Regions from separate parts of the Homo sapiens genome. Here all the other regions are linked to region 1. The links are contacts of gene promoters, found by promoter capture Hi-C in blood cells and fetal thymus (Javierre and others, 2016). All regions are on one chromosome and are shown on one strand. The core of a region is centred on a gene start or on the middle of the fragment in contact, and the rest is flanking DNA. Distances in the headings are between cores, read along the strand shown. Region 1 holds the start of CAVIN1 (caveolae associated protein 1). Region 2 overlaps STAT5B (signal transducer and activator of transcription 5B). Region 3 holds the start of STAT5B (signal transducer and activator of transcription 5B). Region 4 overlaps STAT5B (signal transducer and activator of transcription 5B). Region 5 holds the start of COASY (Coenzyme A synthase). Region 6 overlaps STAT5B (signal transducer and activator of transcription 5B).

Region 1 (3,406 bases), core at 150-2,649:
CTGTCCACCCACTCCACCAGCCCCTCTTGCACTCCTGACGCCCACTCTTCCCCGCCCAGCCCCGCCCGCTTCCAGGAGGCCCAGGGTGCCAGCGCGCCGCGGGTGAGGGTGTCCTCAAGGGCCTGAAAATGCCTGGTGGCCAGGAGCAGAGAGCAGCGAGGGGACAGGGGTGGGCCGCCGAGGCCGATGTGGGGGCGCGGGGGCGCAGGGTCTGGGGAGGAGGTTGGCGGTCGCGTTCCCCGCTTGGCACAGCCCCCGCTGGTGCGTGCCTGAGCCCTGAATCACCCGCTATATCAGGCCCGCAGGCGCAGAGGCCCCAGGCCCGGGCCCCGCAGCCAGTGTCCGCTTACAGCGGACCCCAACGATCGCGAGGGACCCCTGACTTTCCTAGAAACTTCCCCCAAGTAGGAAGAAGTTTGACAGAGCCAATTAGGGAGGGAGCGGTCTGCGAGGGGCAGCGTCCTCGAGTCCACCCGCTAATTCGGTTCTGCTACAAGTTTGGGACCCGAGGGAAGGATCTGAGTGGGGAGGTGCGAGGTGCAGAGCGCGCCCCTCTACGCGCCCCAGGAGTCCGCCGCTCCCTCCACCCCATCCTACCCCACCCAACCCCACCCCAGCCGCGCTCACCGGAAGGAGGGTGGATCTGCCGGGCGCCCGGGCCAGGCTGGGAGGGGAGCAGCGCCACGGGCAGGTCTCCCCACCCCAACTCCCAGGCAGGGGACGCGGGCCGGGCGCGGGAGCTCTGGGCGCCTTCCGCCCTGTGGGCTCACCTGGTAGATCATGACTTTAAAGTTGCGGCGCCGCAGCAGCTCGGCCTCGTTGACCTCCAGCTTCTTGATCTGCCCCGCCTGGCGCTCCAGGCTGCCGCGCACGGTCTTCACGTTGACGCTGACCTTGCGCACCTTCTCCAGCAGCTTGCTCACCGTATTGCTCGTGGTGGCGTGCGCCTTGCCCAGCTTGCTCAGCTCGCCCTGGATGCTCTGCACTGCGCCCTCCATCTCCGCCTGCCGCTCCTCCAGCTGTGCTTGAGTCAGCTGGATCTGGTCTACGGCCCCGATGATTTTGTCCAGGAGGCTCAGCACCAGCACGCCGTTCACCTGGTCCGACTTGATCAGCTCTTCTGAGCCGGCCCCCGACGGCTCCTCCGCTGCCTGAGCCCCAGCGGAGGAAGGCTCCGGGGCCTCGGCGTCGGGGTACCCGGGAAGCGGCCGCTCGACAATATAGAGCGTGGGGTCCTCCATGGCTACCCGGAGCCGTGCGGGACCGGCCGGGTGGGGCTGGAGCTGGAGCGGGAGACCCGGAGAGAAGCAGGAGCGGAAGGGAGGAGAGCTAGCGGGCGAGAGCGGAGAGCAGAGGAAACTCGAGCCACGTCCGTGCGCACCGGGACAGCGGCCAGAACTGCTGGGCGGGGGATCGGTGAGCTCCCCAGCTCCCGGGCCAAACTCCGGAGTCTGATCGCTGATTGGCTGGCCCCACCCCAGAAAGGGAGGGACCGGGGCAGAAGGGGAGATCGACGAGGCGGGGCGGCGGAGGGGGACCCAAGAGCCGAGCGCCCCACCCTTCCCGGGATGGTTGGAATAGTTGGAGCGGGAGACTAGGGCCTCCGCTGGCGGCGGGAGCGGGACGGGCGGAGGAATGCGAGCTGAGGAACGGAATCAGGTTCTAAGAGTGTTGCTCTCTGTTTCCCTCTCACTTGAATTGCTCATCCGAAAATCCTCAAGATCTGGGAGCCGGGTGGACCAGGAGATTCTGAAATTATAGGCAAAATCTTGTATTTGCCTTTACCTAGATTTTGAGCACAAAAGGACCCTTGCCCTTTACAATATTTTCTAAGAGGCCTCTCGGATTTCCTCATCACCAACCCCAACCAGGTTACTAACTCAGGGGTAAGCTTAGGGGGTTGTTTGTGGGGGGCGGGGGGAGAAAGAGAGAACGTATTTGGGGTCACGGTGGTGGTGAAGGGCTGCGAAGCTCCTCTAAGTTCTTTTTAGAATTGCCCTAACAGAGTAGAATTAAGATGGGCAATCAAACGGAAAATAAAGCCCACCTCCCAACCCCCCTTTCTGAGACAGGGTGTCACTCTGTCACCCAGGCTGGAGTGCAGCGGTCTGATCACAGTTCACTGCAGCCTCGACCTCTTGGGCTCAGGCAATCCTCCCACTTCAGCCTCCTGAGTAGATGAGACTATAGGCGCTTGCCACCACGCCCAGCTAATTTCAATTTTTATTTTTTTCAATTTTTATTTTTTTAAGAGACGGGGTGTACACTATTTTGACCAGGCTGGTCTCGAACTCCTGAGCTCAAGTGATCTGCTGGTTTCAGCCTCTCAAAGTGCTGGGAGCCACCGCGCCTGGTGTAAAGCCCTTTTTAAAAGCCCACCTCTCTTAGGCCAGGCGCGGTGGCTCATGCCTGTAATCCCAGCACTTTGGGAGGCCCAGGCGGGTGGATCACGAGGTCAGGAGTTCAAGACCAGCCTGGCCCAAGATGGTGAAACCCCGTCTCTGTTACAAATACAAAAATTAGGCCAGGCGCAGTGGCTCATTTTGGGAGGCGGAGGTGGGTGGATCACCTGAGGTCGGGAGTTCGACCTCAGCCTGACCAACATGGAGAAACCCCATCTCTACTAAAAATACAAAATTAGCCAGGCGTGGTGGCGCATGCCTGTAATCCCAGCTATTCGGGAGGCTGAGGCAGGAGAATCACTTGAACCCGGGGGGCAGAGGTTGCAATGAGCTGAGATTCGCGCCATTGCACTCCAGCCTGAGTGGAATTCTACAGAGTAGAATTCCTCTTTTTTCCAAAAGCTTTTTCAATCCTTAGTAGAAGGAATTTAAATTACTTTAATACATTTCTCCTAAATTCTAAAGTAAGTTGGTAATCTGCCAGTTGGTAATCCACTGTCTGAGTGCAGACAGAGTGAGACTCTGTCTCAAAAAAACAAAAAAAACAAAAACAAAAGCAACCCACAAACCCACGTCTCACCTCTCTCTAAAACTCACCTTTCCCTGTGTTCCCCCTCCCACCGCCCCCTCAGAGGCAGCTGACACCAATCTCAGTGAGCAGGATCTAGGAGTCCATTTCTCTTTCAAGATTCCAGGGACTAACAGTAAGCCATCGGAGAGACCATCAAATCCCACCCCCTCATTTGACAGACAGGAAAAGGAAAGCCTGCAGAAGACAGGTGGCTTGCCAGAGATCACTCGCAGGTTAGTGTTGGCATTGGCACTTGAACCCAGGTCTGGACTCCTGCTTTCATGCTCTTTCCACCTTCTGCTCTAAGCCTTCCACTGGGGCAGGGAGACAGGCACCCACAGCCACTCCCCAACTCCCATGTGCTGTTTCAGAAGATTAACCAAAGCATATTTTCATCCATGCTGGGTACAAGGGAGCAGGCAATTCTGAGCAG
Region 2 (3,166 bases), core at 442-2,941, 220 kb before region 1:
TCAGCCCACACTGCTGCTACCTACTCTTCAAGACATTAGGTGTGAACAGAGAAGGGGAATGAGGTGACCTGGGTTTGAATGACCCAGGGCCCAATGCACAAGAGAGAATTTTGATGTCAAATTAGGGTGGCAAGGAGAAAACAAAAAAGATCCAACTTAGAAACAGAACCATGATTCAACATTTGCAAAAAGCATCATCAATAAGCCTGAAGAAGGCCACGGACTGTGCATCCGCTGGCTCAGAGAAAGGCTGGGCAGCCGGAACAGCAGCTTCCTGGGTAACCAGGCAACAATCTCAGCGCCTGGGAGTCAGGGCTGCGCACTCCACTCTGGCCAGAACACAAACGGCATTGGCACTGTAAGCTCTCAGTTACGTGGCCCTCTTTTCTCTCCTCTATTTCTCCAAACATATGTGCACACCCAGAGGAACTGAGTGGCAATTCCAGGGTGCGGGCGGGCAGGAGGGGAGAGAGGACAAAGAGAGAATAAGATGAGCTAAATGTTTTGTGAAAAGCCACCGCCCATCCGAAAGCTTGTGACTTCCCTTGCCCCAACAATCTTTGTAGGTTGCCCCTTTTCCCATTCCTACCCAAGAACACAGGGGTGGGGGAGAGGGAAGGCTCTCTTTGTCAAAAAGCAGTTATCTACATTTCAGAAGAAAAGCAGAGACAATCACGGTTATATATCAATTGCTTGGCAGACAGAGTGACGAAGACTCACTGGAGCACATGTGCTTTCTCCTCCCTTTGTCCTTCTCTTATTCAAACAGCCACATGTCAAAGTCCAGCCACTCTTAAGACACATGGCCAACTTCCAGGCTTCACGAAACTCACTGCCTTTTTGCACAAAGTAAAAACCACCACAGCTTCTGTCTGTGGCCCCTCTGCTACAACTAAACTCTCAGACAGTGAGAGGGAGAAACACCATAACGTGCAAACACGCACACACACACACACACACACACACACACAAACACATACTCGCACTCCCTTCGCTGGTGCCACCATGCACAGAAACACTAAGGTCACAACTAGTATTAACACTTCACATTATGAGTATTGTTTCAAAAGAGAAGCGATTCATGGAATTAAAACATCCACAAGAGTGATTCCTCTGGTGAAGATGAAGAAGCTGAAGATGGAGAGGTCGCGGGGTCACGATTGTGCGTGCGGGATCCACTGACTGTCCATTGGCCGGCCCAGGAGCTCCTCCACACGCCGCGCTACGTCCATTGTGTCCTCCAGATCGAAGTCCCCATCGGTGTCAAGGACTGAGTCAGGGCTTGGGAGGGAAAGAAGAGGGATGAAGGGAAGGGGAAAGCCTGCCAGAGACCACCCCAAGCCCCACAGGCCACCAGGGGAGCAGTCTGAGCCAGCCTATGCCCTCAGCCTGGGGCTTCATGGGAAAAGAACAACCATTCAAACAGCTGGCTGTACAGCAACTCAGACTGAAATACCCTCCCCTGTTACCTCTCACACCGGCTGTCCAGACACATCACAACTCCACTCAGTCCTTAGAGCAAGAAAAATCTCCATATTGAGAGAGGGGAACAGATGACATTTGCCCAACCCGACTCTAAACCACCAATCACTTCTGGTCAAATCTCTCCCTCCCAAAGGCCAGAGCCCGGGCCAGGGCTGTGTGGTCTCAGACCTAGAGGAGCTCTGGATTCCTTTGACCCCAGCCCTCCAGGGGTCCAGCCTGGGGCCAAGCCCCCAGTTCCTCCCCTGTGGACCCCCACAAGAATGCCACCTACTTCTGTGGGTACATGTTATAGTGAGCCTGGGGACACACAGCTGGGGAGGGGGCCTGGTCCATGTACGTGGCGCTGCCGCCCCCGGCATCTGCAGATGCGTTCACAAACCTGCAGAAGGAAGAGAACAGAGCTTCAGCTGCCAGGGAGGCCAGGGCAGCTGACTTGGGGAGGGGACCAAGGGGTATCTTTGTCTTTCTCAGGGTGTAGAAGGACAAAGTGCCCCACTCGGCCCTGGGGCTCCAGCTACAGGAGTGGGGCCTCAGGTACTGGCATAGCATCACCAAGCCCAGGTCCTTCCCCAGGGCTGAGACAGTTTCCCCGGGGGAGCGGAAAGCTGGGCCAGGATAAGGATGGGAGGCAGGGTCTGGGGGAGGAGGAAAGAGGCAGAAGGAGAGCCACAGCCACCTGGACACTTACTCAGGGACCACTTGCTTGATCTGTGGCTTCACGTATCCATCAACAGCTTTAGCTGCCAAGGGAAGAATGTAGTAAATCAAAGTTCTCAAGTGAAACAAAAATGTGATCTTCCTTATGAATCACATCTTTTCTTAGGACAGAACACAACCACCTAACTTATCTAAGGATATGACACAAGCACTTAATATTTTTTTGTTTTGTTTTTTGAAACAGTCTCACTCTCTCATCCAGGCTGGAGTACGGTGGTGCAATCTCGGCTCACTGCAGCCTCCGCCTCCCAGGTTCAAATGATTCCGATGCCTCAGCCTCCTGAGTAGCTGGATTACAGGTACACCACCACACTTTGGCTAATTTTTGTATTTTTAGTAGAGATGGGGTTTCACCATGTCACCCAGGCTGTTTTCTAACTCCTGACCTCAAGTTATCTGCCCACCTTGGCCCCCCAAGGTGCTGGGATTACAGGCATAAGCCACCGCACTTGGCCAAGCATTTAATATTTCAATCTGTTAGGAAGACCTGGTAGAGGAGAAGGTCAGCACTAAAACTGAAATTCAAGATATCTTCCAAATTGGCTTGGATGTTTCAATAAATTCTTCAAACCATGGAAACTATGTACTTCAATACAAATCTAAGTCAAGCACTAATTGCATACTAATTAAAAAAAAAAAAACACCTTGAAAAGCTTAAAGTCCAAGATGCAGCAGAGAGACAGGATTTGTTCTACCTGACCCAGGGGATAAAATCAGGACCAGGAGGGGCAGGTCATAAGAGGACAAATGTTCAGTCATGCAGGGAAGAATGTTCTAAGTAGAACTGCCAGGAAAAGAAATGATTTATCTTAGGAAGGACTGATTTCCTTGTCACTGGAGGTTTTCTTTTTTTTCTTTTTTGACAGAGTCTTACTCTGTTGCCCACACTGGAGTGCAGTGGTGCGATCTCAGCTCACTGCAACCTCTGCCTTCTGGGTTCAAGTGATTCTCATGCTTCAGCCTC
Region 3 (3,003 bases), core at 504-3,003, 150 kb before region 1:
AGAAAGGGAAAAAATGTGTCACAGATAGAATGTCCAGAAATCTGTGAATAACTTTATGAGATACAGACATTTTTGTAGGGCACGAAAATAGTTAGGCTTCCTTCGATTCCACCTGTAACCTGCATCTAATCTTGAGCATGTTATTTACCTATCTATAACGTCTTCCTTTTACAATAAGACTACCTGTGTCACCTACCTACATAACAACAAGCCAAATAAACCACAACAAATGGATTCATAATATATAAGCCTAACAAAAATTACAGACAATTTGAATACTAACAATACTATGATTTGAAAAAACTCGACTTAAGTATCAAAAAGTAATAAATGGCAACTTTAGTCTTGATGTGGCTTTTACATATGTAAATGACATAAAAACAATCAAGAGAGGAAGAAAATGGAGATGAGATGAAAAGTCAGAGCAGGATAGGAAGTGTTGACCAAAATATTTATGTTGTAACACTCCAAACGATGATAGCACATTTTTCTCCTACAATCATACATACTATGAAGTACACACCTTAAATTTCTGAACACAATCCATATTAATATCCCGTGGGCAAAAAATACAAGCACCGAAAAGGTGAGAACTGATGAGAAGGTGGGATAGTTTACCTAGTTGGGTATATAGCAAAGATTATTTTGTGCAGAGTTTAGCTTCAAGTTATGCAATAACCAAACTACTGGTGATAGAAATCAACTTTTTTTTTCTGATGGTTTGCTTTACAAAAAAAAAAAAAAAAAAAAAAAAAACCTCTCCATTCCTTCCCTGTGTCTCAATCTGGAGCTTGAAATTTCATCTTCCAGAGGCTACAGTAGCAAACAAGTCATCTCCTAGATAACGCGCTTACCTGACCCAAGGTGTGGACTTGTTTGAATTAAACGTAACAGATACCACAAATTGTCACATAGGAAGTTTTTCTTAAAATCAGCAGCCCCTTCTCTTATTTAGCCATGTCCATTCTAACAACTGTGATCTTCCATGAGATGGAAACTGGTACCCAAATGAATAAACAAAACAACCCAAAGCCTTAAAATAAAATCAATCAATAAGATTCTCCCCATTTGAAGTGATCAGAACCACTCCAATATTTACAGTGTTACAAAATGAAATTTTAAAACATGAAAGGCACACTCAATAAAATACATCCTCACCTAGGAACTCACAGGCAATGAACATAACGCAATATAACATAAGCAAATGGACAACAATAGAATGTTGGGGAGAGAGGCACAGTTCTATTACCTTAATTGAAAGATAACAAAATTATTTGAAATAATGTAGACCCAACAGCTGAAAGCTTATTATGGCCCAGGCGGCTATCCAACAGCTTTGGAAACCTAAGATCCAAGCAGACCATAAACACCACTTGAAGACTGAAAAAAATGACATAAGCCCAAGTATGATATTCAGTGTCACGCTGGCCCTTTCAAAGGGCATTCCCTGAGGACACTGCAGAGAAAATGTATGGAATTGTATCTAGGCAAAGATCTGTATACTGCACGATGCTTTGGGAAGAGCACGAATCTCAGAGTCCTTGAAGTTTCAATCCCTGGATACTCAACAAACAGCCGTGTCACCTGAGCAGGCCACTTACTCCACCTATCTGGGCCTCAGTTTCCTCATTTGTACAATAAAAGAATGGCATCATCGCTGGGTTCCTTTCCAGCTCTAACATTCTTTGACCCACTTTTGGCACTATTTATTTGATACGAGGTATGGCGGGATCACAGGGACCAAGAAGAAAAGAACTGACTCTGGCTCTTTGGCAAAGAGAGAATCGGTATCTCTTTTAGTCTTTAAAATTCTTGTGCTTTTCATTAATCCCGTCTTTCTAAAAGCTGACACTTGGTTTTCTTCTTTGGCTTTTCCATCACTGCTGGCTACAAGTGTTTGCAACCGCCTCTTGCTCCGTGTGAGTTCTTTCCTCTTTGTTCACCCCGACCATCTTGCCAGATTCCTTTAGCCTCAGACCAGCTTTTGTGATACAACTCCCCTTCCGACTCTCCATATCTACCCCCCGACACCAGGAGCACTTTTAACCCTTTATCCCTGACTAGAAAGAAAAAGCACACTGCATCCCACGGCCACACGCACGAGCCCAGGCCTGGCGGGTCCTGATGTGGGATCCCGCCCCCCAGAGTCTTATCGAAACGTTCGTATTTGTTGTCTTGATTCCTTATAAGGCCCTGTTTCTTGAAGCTTTGCTAATACCCCCCACCGCACCAGGCACCCCCGCAGGCTCATCCCATCCCCGGAGTCCCGGGAACCTCTTTTGAAAGAAAGAAGTTAAAGCAAGGAAGACGGCTGGGGATATTCGGAATTGCAACGTGAAGGTGTGAGGCGGCTGACAGCAGCCCCCTGAGCTCCTATGGGGTCGGCGCGGGGTCCCCACACACCCACTCAGCACACGCGCACGCAGCCTTTAAAGCGCACGCCCCCCGCGGCGCCGCGGCGTTCGCAAGTCCCCCTCGCGCACCCCGCATTGCCCTCAGCCTCCCCGGCAGCCAACCCGGACCCCCTCTCCCCGCGCGCGCCCCTCGCCCAGCGCGCAACCACCGCGGCCCGGGAGTGATGGCGGCGGCGCGGCCCTGACGGGCGGCTGAGCGGCTGGAGCGCGGGCCCCGCCCGGGCTGGCTCCCCGGCCTGGCTCCCCCGGCCCCGGGCCCAGGGCTCGCCCCGCAGCTCCTACCTCGCTCGGCCCCTCGGGCGCCCGCGGCTGCTCCGGCCCAGCTGTCTGGCTTGCCCGCCCGCCCGCTCGCTCCCTCCCTCGGCCGGGCCGCCGCGCGGAGTTGCCTGCGCTGGGTCCCCGCCCGGGGTGACGGCTCCGGCCGCCGACTCTCCTCCCGCCGGGGCCCGCGGGGGCGCGCGCGCCGCTCACGCGCGGAGGCCCAGGGACGCGCGCCGCTGGCAACCCGGAGCGCGCCCCGCTTCCTGGTTCCGCCCGGCGCGCGCTCGCTAGCCCGCTGTCCCTCGCGCCCCCTCCGCGACCGCCCTTG
Region 4 (3,158 bases), core at 465-2,964, 170 kb before region 1:
CCATCTGGATACCTGTTCACATGATACCTATAACTAAACAGCAACTTACCTGATGCTACTGTGCATTGGGTTGGAGACAAGGTATACATGATAAATTCCTACTATAATTAATAAATGTTCAAATGAAAATATACAAATAGATTGGGTGCGGTGGCTCACACCTGTAATCTCAGCACTTTGGGAGGCCAAGGTAGGCGAATCACAAGGTCAGGAGCTCAAGACCAGACTGGCCAGCATGGTGAAACCCCGTCTCTACTAAAAATACAAAAAATTAGCTGGGCGTGGTGATGCGTGCCTGTAATCCCAGCTACTGGGGAGGCTGAGGCAGGAGAATGGCTCGAACCCAGGAGGTGGAGGTTGCAGTGAGCCGAGATCGTGCCACTGCATTCCAGCCTGGGTGACAGAGCAAGGCTCCGTCTCAAAAAAAAAAAAAAAGAAAAAAAGAAAAGAAAATATACAAATAACTATGTTACTGTTGATGTACATTAAGTATGAGTTGAATGCTAGAAGATCATCTGGGTTCTCCAAGCTATGCCATCAAGAAATAGACACTCTGATACAGAAGGCAACTTCTGAATTTAACAGTGCTGTGCGATATATCAAGGGGAAATTTGGGACAAGGATGCCTGGCAGTTCCACAAGCCTAGGAAAAGTGCCTCAAACAATCTTTAACACCTTTAGGTAGAAATAGAATCAGTACAATATTTGTATCCAATGTCTTTGATCATTTTGATAATCTTATTTTTAAAAGATGGGATGTTTTCCTCCTCTAGAATTAGAATTTACCCTACACTCTGGACATAAGAACCAAGGCAACTAAGTTATCTGCTGGCCAACTAATAGACTGTAAGCCATCCTGGAGCAAGGACCATGTCTCTCTGATTCATTTTGATTTCCCCAATATAGTACTTGATATACATGGTTGGTATTTAGTAATTGTGTATTGAATACAATTTTTATAGACCTCCATGTTACAAAAAGGACCTAAATTGGGGGAAATGGATGGTAGGTCAGTTATTTCCTTCAGGATATTTTTAACACTGTGGAGGTCATTAATCTGAATCCTTATTACAGGAATAATGGGAGTGAATCACACTTTATAGAAACCATGACGGAGGTTTTGACTCATCATTGGTGCTAATCAAGGTAAACATAATAGCAAGTTGTGCCACCCTCATAAACATCGTGACAAGTTTGTAAAATAGAGCTAACACTTTATTGCAGCAATTTCAAAGAGAAGAATTACATGAAATATGATGATGCTAAGATGAGCTAAAATTCCAAAGAAAGGATCTTCTCTAAGCAAACTAACCTTTCTTTTAATTATATCTCAAGAAAGAAGCTGAGTATAAACGAAAAGCACATTTGTCAACAATTCACTCATTCAGTTACCATGTATGCCACTAACTACAATCCAGAAAGATTTATGATTGTGCCAAAACAAGATGATGAGGTTCTATACCCAGAATGTAGATTAATGTTAGAAGGATGACTCAGGACTTATGGCATCAGTCTGATAGACGTTGAACCTTTCTTTCTTTCTTTCTTTCTTTCTTTCTTTTTTTCATCTCTGTGAGTTCTTCAACTACAGGACAGAATGCCAACTCAGGAAGATAATTCAGTAAACACAGCCACCTTTGACTACAGACTATTTTTTATCCAAGATGTATTTCCATGTAGCAAAGTAAATTTAGCAAATGAAAATATAGTCTTGACTTGCTATGGATGTCCCCTATCTCTGCCAAAAATGACAAGCTGCTTGCTCAAAAGCTGTCACTAATTAGCAGCTGCTGCTGTAAAGAAAACCAAAGTAAGTGCCAATAAAAGCATATTGAACTCAAAGAGGGCCCTATGACAAGAGATGGGAAATGCAAGAATCTATTTGTGACTAGTAAACTTACATAAATACTAGCAATCTAAATTTGGGAGATGTAGGGGCAGGGCAATAATGGCAATACATATCCATTCATATTTAAACAGGAAGGACTGAAAGAGTCTCCTAACATCCTGAAAGTCAGAAATACCAAGGTATTGGTGTTGCTGAATTCCATCACAACCATTTCCACCTTTCCAATAGGAGCCAGTCTTGGTTTTGGATGATGATGATTATTTTTAGAGACAGGGTCTTGTTCTGTGGCCCAGACTGGAGAGCAGTGGCATGAACACAACTCATTGCAGCCTGTGACTCCTGGCCTCAAGTCATCTTGCCACCTTTGCCTCCCAAAGTGCTGGGATTACAGGCGTGAGTCACCGCGCCTGGCCTGGTTTTGGATAATTTCTCATTGTCAATACTTCTGTCTCTGGCACTTTAACAACTGCATTTGTAGACATTGTAAAAATAAATTTTAAAAATAACTTTCATATTCTATGGGCTTCGGCCTAAACTCTGATGGTTCCGAATCTACCTGTTGACCCCTCATGTTATAGGTTGAAACTATGAAGTCAAGCAGAAGTGATCTGCCCAATGTAAATGAGCACAGATACAGTGGTAGAAAATCACTTTACTAGCCCTATTTCAAGAGGCTCTAAAGGAGTCCACAACATCCCAGCACTTTGGGATGCTGAGGCAGGAGGATCACTTGAGGCCAGGAGTTCAAGACCAGCCTGGGCAACACAGCAAGACCTCATCTCTACAAAATAAAAATTAAAAAATTAGCCAGGCGTGCTGGTATGTACCTGTAATCCTAGCTACTCAGAAGGCTGAGGTGGGAGGATGGCTTGAGCCCAGGAGTTTGAGGCTACAGTGAGCCATGACTGCACCACTGCACTCTGTCTCTTAAAAAATAATAATAATAAAGTAGTCTACAGCCCAAGATCCTGCTTTAAAGCTAAATTCCATAGATTACTTTTCAAATCATCCTTCGAAGCTGTCCTCTCTTTGTTCCTATCAGTCAGAACTCCCAGTATATTTCTCTTTTTCCTCAACAAGTTAGTTTCTGTCCTTAAAAAAAAAAAAATTAAGAATATTTCCCCTTCATTTTGGTTCTCTTACTCTCTTTTTCTCTCTCCCTCCAGGTGAACTGCTAGAGAGCTATGATTGTTTCATCTATATTTGGACCCCTAGGGTCAGGCTGTGTCTTCAGCAACTACTCAGAAAAATGAGAATGAAAAAGAAAGAAAAAAGGAAGAAAGAGAGAGAGGGAAGGACAAACTGGAAG
Region 5 (3,056 bases), core at 517-3,016, 140 kb after region 1:
CATCCCTGTGGGAGGCAGTAAAATACACATTTACTCAATAAAAATGACTCTGTATGTGGTGTGTCAGACTGTGTGTCCAGATGTCTTGGGACATTCTCTGGCAGCCTTTGCTGTTTGTGTCTTCAAATCAGACCCTATCTTTAAATCTAACATGTCTCCTGTGAGAAGCCTGGTCCCTTAATACCTTTGTGGCTCTACAACTCTTCCCTCCTTGACTGTATCTCTTCCTCCAGGTCTTTGCTGTTTTCCTGAATCACCTTATCTAAAATAGCATCTCCTTTTCTCCATCATAAGCCCAGGTTTTGTGGGGCTGGGGGCTTATTTGCTTTTGGAGACCGTCTTCAAGAATACAAAAGATAAACACAAAATTACATATAAAAGTGAGTTTTGTTTTTTTTTTTAAGTTTCGGATACCACGGCACATTACTGGAATCTTGGAGACTGGCTTCTCTCCCTTTTGATCTCCATGCACAACTTACCTGAGATGTATTCTAATAGCAACCTGGCTTCCCCTCCACACTCAGCCTTTCAAGCGCCCATTAGCTTCGCAGTAAATCTCCCACACTAGGTATCCAGCCTTTGCCTTTTTCTTTTTTCTTTTTTTTTTTCCAGAGGGAGTTTCGCTTTTTTTTTTTTTTTTTTTTTTTTGAGACGGAGTCTCACTCTGTCACCCAGGCTGGAGTGTAGTGGTGCGATCTCGGCTCACTGCAAGCTCTTCCTCCCGGGTTCACGCCATTCTCCTGCCTCAGCCTCCCGAGTAGCTGGGACTACAGGCGTCTGCCACCATGCCCGGCTAATTTTTTTTTGTATTTTTAGTAGAGACGGGGTTTCACCGTGTTAGCCAGGATGGTCTCGATCTCCTGACCTCGTGATCCGCCCGCCTCGGCCTCCCAAAGTGCTGGGATTACAGGCGTCAGCCACCGCGCCCGGCCGGGAGTTTCGCTCTTGTTGCCCAGGTTGGAGTGCAATGGCACAATCTTGGCTCACCGCGACCTCCGCCCACGGGTTCAGGCGATTCTCCTGCCTCAGCCTCCTGAGTAGCTGGGATTACAGCCATGCGCCACCACGCTCGTCTAATTTTGTATTTTTAGTAGAGACAAGGTTTCTCCATATTGGTCAGGTTGGTCTCGAACTCCCGACCTCAGATGCTCTGCCCACCTCGGCATCCCAAAGTGCTGGGATTACAGGCGTGAGCCACCGCGCCCAATCAGCCTTTGCCTTTTTCTCCTGTCCACAGAGACCCCGCAAACAAGCGCATCAGAGGATCTGGGTGGTGCGAGAGCCTCCTACAGCAGCCAGGTACACACAAGGCCTCAGTTTTTCCATCTGTGAAATGGGTACGTGGACAGACCTGTCCAGTAGCCTCCCATGTGAGAATCCTCGGACTGAGAGGGTACTAGGAGGGCTAATACAGCGCAGCCCTGTGATTCCCCACCTCTGTCCCTGGAATGAAGGAAATCTGGGTGTTAGTTCTGGCTTTGCCGATGCCTCTTGGGTGGCCTGGCTGAAACTAATCTCTCCTCATCAGGCCAGAAGGGAATCTGTGAAATGGGCTTTGAAACCTGCCTTGCCTTTCTCCGCCCGGTCCCAGCGGGGGTCCGATCGGCATCAAGGCTTCACCCACTCCCAGAGCCTTCGGGATCAGCCCCACCCCATCAGCAGGACACAGCCCATGCCACTGGAAATCTCGCGAGAATCCCGCGCTGAAGCGAAGTCGAGACGTTTGACCTTCCTCCGTTTCCGTAGTTCCGAGTTGCGGTTTCTCCGTTAGTGCTTCCGGGTTGCAGCCAGGGAAGCCTCCGCGGTGGTGCAAGTGGAACCCAAGCCTTGAGGTTTCAGTGAGTAGGGGGCCGACGTGAGCTTTAGCGTCCCCCTTTAGCCTCCCTCTTCGATTCCTTGAAGACCCTGGTGCAGCTTAGCAAGAGGGCCCAGGATTTTTGGATCCCCAGCCCTGTGACAAGGGTTCCTGTCCAGTTTCCCCCTCCCAGGATTTCGACTCAGTTCAGCGAAGTCACCGCCCCGTCTGAGAAATGAGGACACCAAGGCTTAGAGCACAGCCCCGAGGCGCCGTCTACCAGGCCCCGTCCCCTCCCCCGGCTCCTGTCGGTCAGCACTGAAACCCCGTCCCTGCTCCAGGCCTCCTTCTCTGGGGTCCAAGGTCCCATACAGGCCTCTGCCTCGGCCGCAGGCCCTTCAGTCACCGTCGCCTCGTCTCCCTGACTGTCCGCAGGCCTGGGCAGCATGGCCGTATTCCGGTCGGGTCTCCTGGTGCTGACGACGCCGCTGGCCTCCCTAGCCCCTCGCCTGGCCTCCATCCTGACCTCGGCGGCCCGGCTGGTGAATCACACACTCTATGTTCACCTGCAGCCGGGCATGAGCCTGGAGGGCCCGGCTCAGCCCCAGTCCAGCCCCGTGCAGGCCACGTTTGAGGTTCTTGATTTCATCACGCACCTCTATGCTGGCGCCGACGTCCACAGGCACTTGGACGTCAGAATCCTACTGACCAATATCCGAACCAAGAGCACCTTTCTCCCTCCCCTGCCCACCTCAGTCCAGAATCTCGCCCACCCGCCAGAAGTCGTGTTGACAGATTTCCAGACCCTGGATGGAAGCCAGTACAACCCGGTCAAACAGCAGCTAGTGCGTTACGCCACCAGCTGTTACAGCTGTTGTCCGCGACTGGCCTCGGTGCTGCTATACTCCGATTATGGGATAGGAGAAGTGCCCGTGGAGCCCCTGGATGTCCCCTTACCCTCCACGATCAGGCCAGCTTCCCCCGTGGCCGGGTCTCCAAAGCAGCCGGTGCGTGGCTACTACCGTGGCGCTGTCGGTGGCACGTTTGACCGCCTGCACAACGCCCACAAGGTGTTGCTCAGTGTCGCGTGCATCCTGGCCCAGGAGCAGCTTGTGGTGGGAGTAGCAGACAAAGATCTGTTGAAGAGTGAGTAAGAGGGACCCTGGACTAGGGTGGAGGATCCCCAAATCTCCCCACCCCCGACCCTTATGCCGAGATCAAGGAAGGGTAGGGCCATTCATTACTTCCCACCCTTCCCAAA
Region 6 (3,283 bases), core at 767-3,266, 200 kb before region 1:
GCTGGAAGGGGCCCAGCATGTTTGTCCAGGTGAGCTCACTGTGAACCCAGCCAACCAACCAGGGAACACGGACAGACAGACAGACCGCAGAGGGAGAGCATGTCCAGGGCCACTGGGGATGCAGAGCCACCAAGATTCTCTCAGGAAAGGGAGGCCGAAGGGAGGCGGCTTCCCTCCACACCATCTGTGAGGAGTCTCATTGATGGCGGGACAGGGAGTAAGTTAGGCCTCATTACCTTTTAAAAATTATTATGAAATAGGTAAGACACAGGGAACGTGGAACACAGGAGCACCTGTGTATCAATAACCCAGGCTAAGAAAGTAAACATGTCCACAGTTACAACCACCACCGCAGGCCCACCCCACCCTCCCAGCGACAGCCCGTCTCCACCACACTGGGACTATTAATCCCTTCCCATCACCTTCTCAACAGCCCAGAGTCCTTGCTTGAGCTGAGTCAGAAGATGCGCGCACCAGCATGTCTTGGTCGAGCTCCTGGCTGGCCCCTGAGGGCCACGTCACTCTGACCCCAGCCCTGACCCATGGGATGCACAAGCTGGGACAGACAAAAGCAACTCTATGTAGCCAGGAACAGCCCAGAGCTAGAACTCAGAAATATGGCTCCAATCTCACTGCAGGTATCGAGCAGGAAGAGGATCATCCAGGGACGGACAGATCCAAGGTATCTGCACGGCTACCTCAGGAATCCTGCCCAGCCACAGGGAGGGTGGTGGTGATCCCAACACCTGGGCCCAGCCTTCCTATGCAAGGGACCCACTTAGGGCTCTCCTGGAAATTTGCAGAAGCTTTTGGGAAGGAGGCCAGGGAGACGGGAAGCAATTTCCCTACTCCACTGGAGGCAGCTGAGCCTTCCCTGGCAAAAGCAGATCAATAGTCTGTGTTTCTGCTGAGTGAACTTGACAAATGGGACTGAGAAGACACTGCGTGATAGATCCAAACCCAACCTGAATCCAAACCTAATCCGCCACCATGCACAGGAAACAGAAAAGCCAGGCACGGGATCAGAAATACTGTTGACAGTCTAAGGACTTGGGTAGGAATAGCCATCCCAAATCTTCCGTTTCCATTCTCTGAAGGAGCTGCCCTTCTTCTAGGGCCAGTCTAGGATGGATTCAGATAAAAAAGGAAGACAGGCTAGAATCATCCTGTCAACCTTTACTCAATAACTGTTATGTTTCAGGCATTGTGCTGGCCTCAGGGTACAGAGATAAAAGATATAGTCCCTTCTCAAAGATTTATATTCCAGTGGAGAAGATAAAGAGTAAATAAGTAGTATCACTATAGACATAAAATGGAACCTACATACATGGAATTAGAGGAGCATGTGCTGTGTGTGTGTGTGTGTGCTGTGTGTCTATGTGTGTGTGGTGTGTATGTGTGGTGTGTGTGTGTGCTATGTGTGGTGTGTGTGTGCTGTGTGTGGTGTGGTGTGTGTGTGCTGTGTGTGGTGTGGTGTGTGTGGTGTGGTGTGTGTGTGCTGTGTGTCTGTGTGTGTGCTGTGTGTGGTGTGTGTGTGCTGTGTGTGTGCACTGTGTGTCTCTGTGTGCTGTGGGGGGTGTGTGTGCTGTGTGTGTGTGTGCTGTGTGTGTGATGTGTGTGGTGTGTGTGTGTGCTGTGTTGTCTGTGTGTGCTGTGTGTGTGTGTGTTTGGAGGGGCTGGGTGGTTGAGCCAAGGCTTCTCTGAGACTGAGCTGGGCATGGAAGCAGAGAGGAAACTATTAAAGCTCAAACTGCCAAACTGCTACAGGGTCAAAAGGGGGCGCTGGTGGGGCTCCACAGCCTCACCACAGACTGAAGCTCTCTGTGCCCCAACTACTAAGCAGGATTTATACCAGGCTAGGGAAGCTCTGTCCATAAGGGCTACCTAAGGGGCGTTAAGTGTACTCTGTTTCAGGAAGACCTCTGTGAATAACTGCATAGAACATTAGAAATCATATACAGGTCCTTAGTACTTACACGTACCTGCTTAGAAAGGTTTCTTTTCCCCCTTAGAGATAGGGTCTTACTATGTTGCCTAAGCTAGTCTGAAACTACTGGCCTCAAGTGATCCTCCTGCCCTGGCCTCCCAAAGCACCAGGATTACAGGTGTGCAAAACCACTCCCAGCTTAGAATTTTTTTTTTTTTTTTTTGAGACAGAATTTTGCTCTTTTTGTCCAGGCTGGAGTGCAATGGTGAGATCTCGGCTCCCTGCAACCTCCGCCTCCCGGGTTCAAGAGATTCTCTTGCCTCAGCCTCCCAAGTAGCTGGGATTACATGCATGCGCCACTGGGATGCCCAGCTAATTTTGTATTTTTAGTAGAGACGGGGTTTCACCATGTTGGCCAGGCTGGTCTCGAACTCCTGACCTCAGGTGATCCGCCTGCCTCAGCCTCCCAAAGTGCTGGGATTACAGGTGTGAGCCACCGTGCCCAGCCAGAAAAATTTTTAAACATGTAATTATATAATTTCCTATTTATCATTTCAATAAAGCTCCACTTATAATATGCCTACTATATACAAAAGTATTGTTTGCTAGTATTTATTTAGACTGTGAGCTCCTTCTCAAAAGAAGAAATGTCTTCCCTGGCAGCTCAGAAGCTCCCTGGATGTGGGGACCTGAGTGAGATATGCACTTAAGCGGGGGGTCCTGTCATCTCCCCTTCCTAAATCTCATCCTCTCAGCACTGTCTTCAATGCAAATAAGTCCCTGCTACTCAGAGAAAGGTCGCTGCCTCCGAATGGAAAGTGTGCTTTCTCCCAACCCCACCAGAGCTGCTTTCCAGTCCCCAGGCCCAATCCTCAAGTTGCACAATGTGCCTCCACCGCGCCTCACCTTGGATCCTCAGGCTCTCCTGGTACTGGATGATGAAGTACTCCTGAGTCTGCTGCAGCTTTTTTAACTCATTCTCTGTGTCCTGCGTGACCAGTCGCAGCTCCTCAAACGTCTGGTTGATCTGGAGGTGTTTCTGGGACATGGCATCAGCAAGGCTTCCAGCTGGAGAGCTACCCTGGGAACATATGGGGGGCAGTGCAAGGCAGTGCGAATGGGAGGAAGACTGAGGCCTTAATCCCCAGGAAAAGCCAGCTCCTACAACCAGGGTAAGACCCCAAAAGGTAAATTTTGAGTCGGGAGGAAAAGCAAACGTCATCATGAGACACAGGGTGGAGTGGGAAAAGTGAGAAACAGGTGAGCGGACAGATCATGGCTCAGATCACAAAGCATGGGAGAAGCTTCCATTTCAGATCTGACCTCCACCAGAGTATTCCAAACGAGGTCCATTGA

Evidence for each region. The method cuts DNA at HindIII sites, captures the fragments that hold promoters and counts their contacts. A CHiCAGO score of 5 or more calls a contact.
Region 2: a contact is called between a fragment that was not itself captured here and the fragment with the promoter of CAVIN1 in region 1, in 6 of 17 cell types (activated CD4 T cells, total CD8 T cells, naive CD4 T cells and 3 more). The highest score is 8.6, in activated CD4 T cells.
Region 3: a contact is called between a fragment that was not itself captured here and the fragment with the promoter of CAVIN1 in region 1, in 5 of 17 cell types (endothelial precursors, megakaryocytes, fetal thymus and 2 more). The highest score is 9.2, in endothelial precursors.
Region 4: a contact is called between a fragment that was not itself captured here and the fragment with the promoter of CAVIN1 in region 1, in 5 of 17 cell types (neutrophils, megakaryocytes, endothelial precursors and 2 more). The highest score is 5.3, in neutrophils.
Region 5: a contact is called between the fragment with the promoter of COASY here and the fragment with the promoter of CAVIN1 in region 1, in 6 of 17 cell types (neutrophils, activated CD4 T cells, total CD8 T cells and 3 more). The highest score is 6.9, in neutrophils.
Region 6: a fragment that was not itself captured here is called in contact with the fragment with the promoter of CAVIN1 in region 1 in 1 of 17 cell types (megakaryocytes); the score reaches 5.0 in megakaryocytes.

Annotation. Positions count from the first base shown.
Region 1 is chr17:42,421,857-42,425,262 of GRCh38, forward strand. It overlaps CAVIN1 (caveolae associated protein 1), which reads right to left and starts at 1,400. Exons shown (of 2, transcript NM_012232.6): 1 at 771-1,400. The coding sequence starts at 1,241. It overlaps LOC102725238 (a long non-coding RNA gene), which reads left to right and starts at 1,332. Exons shown (of 4, transcript XR_007065758.1): 1 at 1,332-1,416; 2 at 3,035-3,206. The HindIII fragment of the contact is 2,664 bases long and covers 1-1,889 here.
Region 2 is chr17:42,200,584-42,203,749 of GRCh38, forward strand. STAT5B (signal transducer and activator of transcription 5B) reads right to left here. Exons shown (of 19, transcript NM_012448.4): 17 at 2,174-2,225; 18 at 1,757-1,864; 19 at 1-1,281. The coding sequence ends at 1,155. Among named protein-coding and RNA genes, the nearest start is that of GHDC, 7.7 kb to the left of the region's middle. The HindIII fragment of the contact is 2,323 bases long and covers 531-2,853 here.
Region 3 is chr17:42,273,552-42,276,554 of GRCh38, forward strand. It overlaps STAT5B (signal transducer and activator of transcription 5B), which reads right to left and starts at 2,840. Exons shown (of 19, transcript NM_012448.4): 1 at 2,697-2,840. RefSeq lists a silencer at 2,473-3,003. The HindIII fragment of the contact is 902 bases long and covers 1,303-2,204 here.
Region 4 is chr17:42,251,579-42,254,736 of GRCh38, forward strand. The region is part of intron 1 of STAT5B (signal transducer and activator of transcription 5B); the gene reads right to left. Among named protein-coding and RNA genes, the nearest start is that of STAT5B, 23 kb to the right of the region's middle. The HindIII fragment of the contact is 4,157 bases long and covers 1-3,158 here.
Region 5 is chr17:42,560,382-42,563,437 of GRCh38, forward strand. It overlaps COASY (Coenzyme A synthase), which reads left to right and starts at 1,767. Exons shown (of 9, transcript NM_025233.7): 1 at 1,767-2,941. The coding sequence starts at 2,242. RefSeq lists enhancers at 1,843-2,092, 2,103-2,292. The HindIII fragment of the contact is 14,901 bases long and covers 1-3,056 here.
Region 6 is chr17:42,220,549-42,223,831 of GRCh38, forward strand. It overlaps STAT5B (signal transducer and activator of transcription 5B), which reads right to left. Exons shown (of 19, transcript NM_012448.4): 5 at 2,834-3,008. Among named protein-coding and RNA genes, the nearest start is that of GHDC, 28 kb to the left of the region's middle. The HindIII fragment of the contact is 2,425 bases long and covers 805-3,229 here.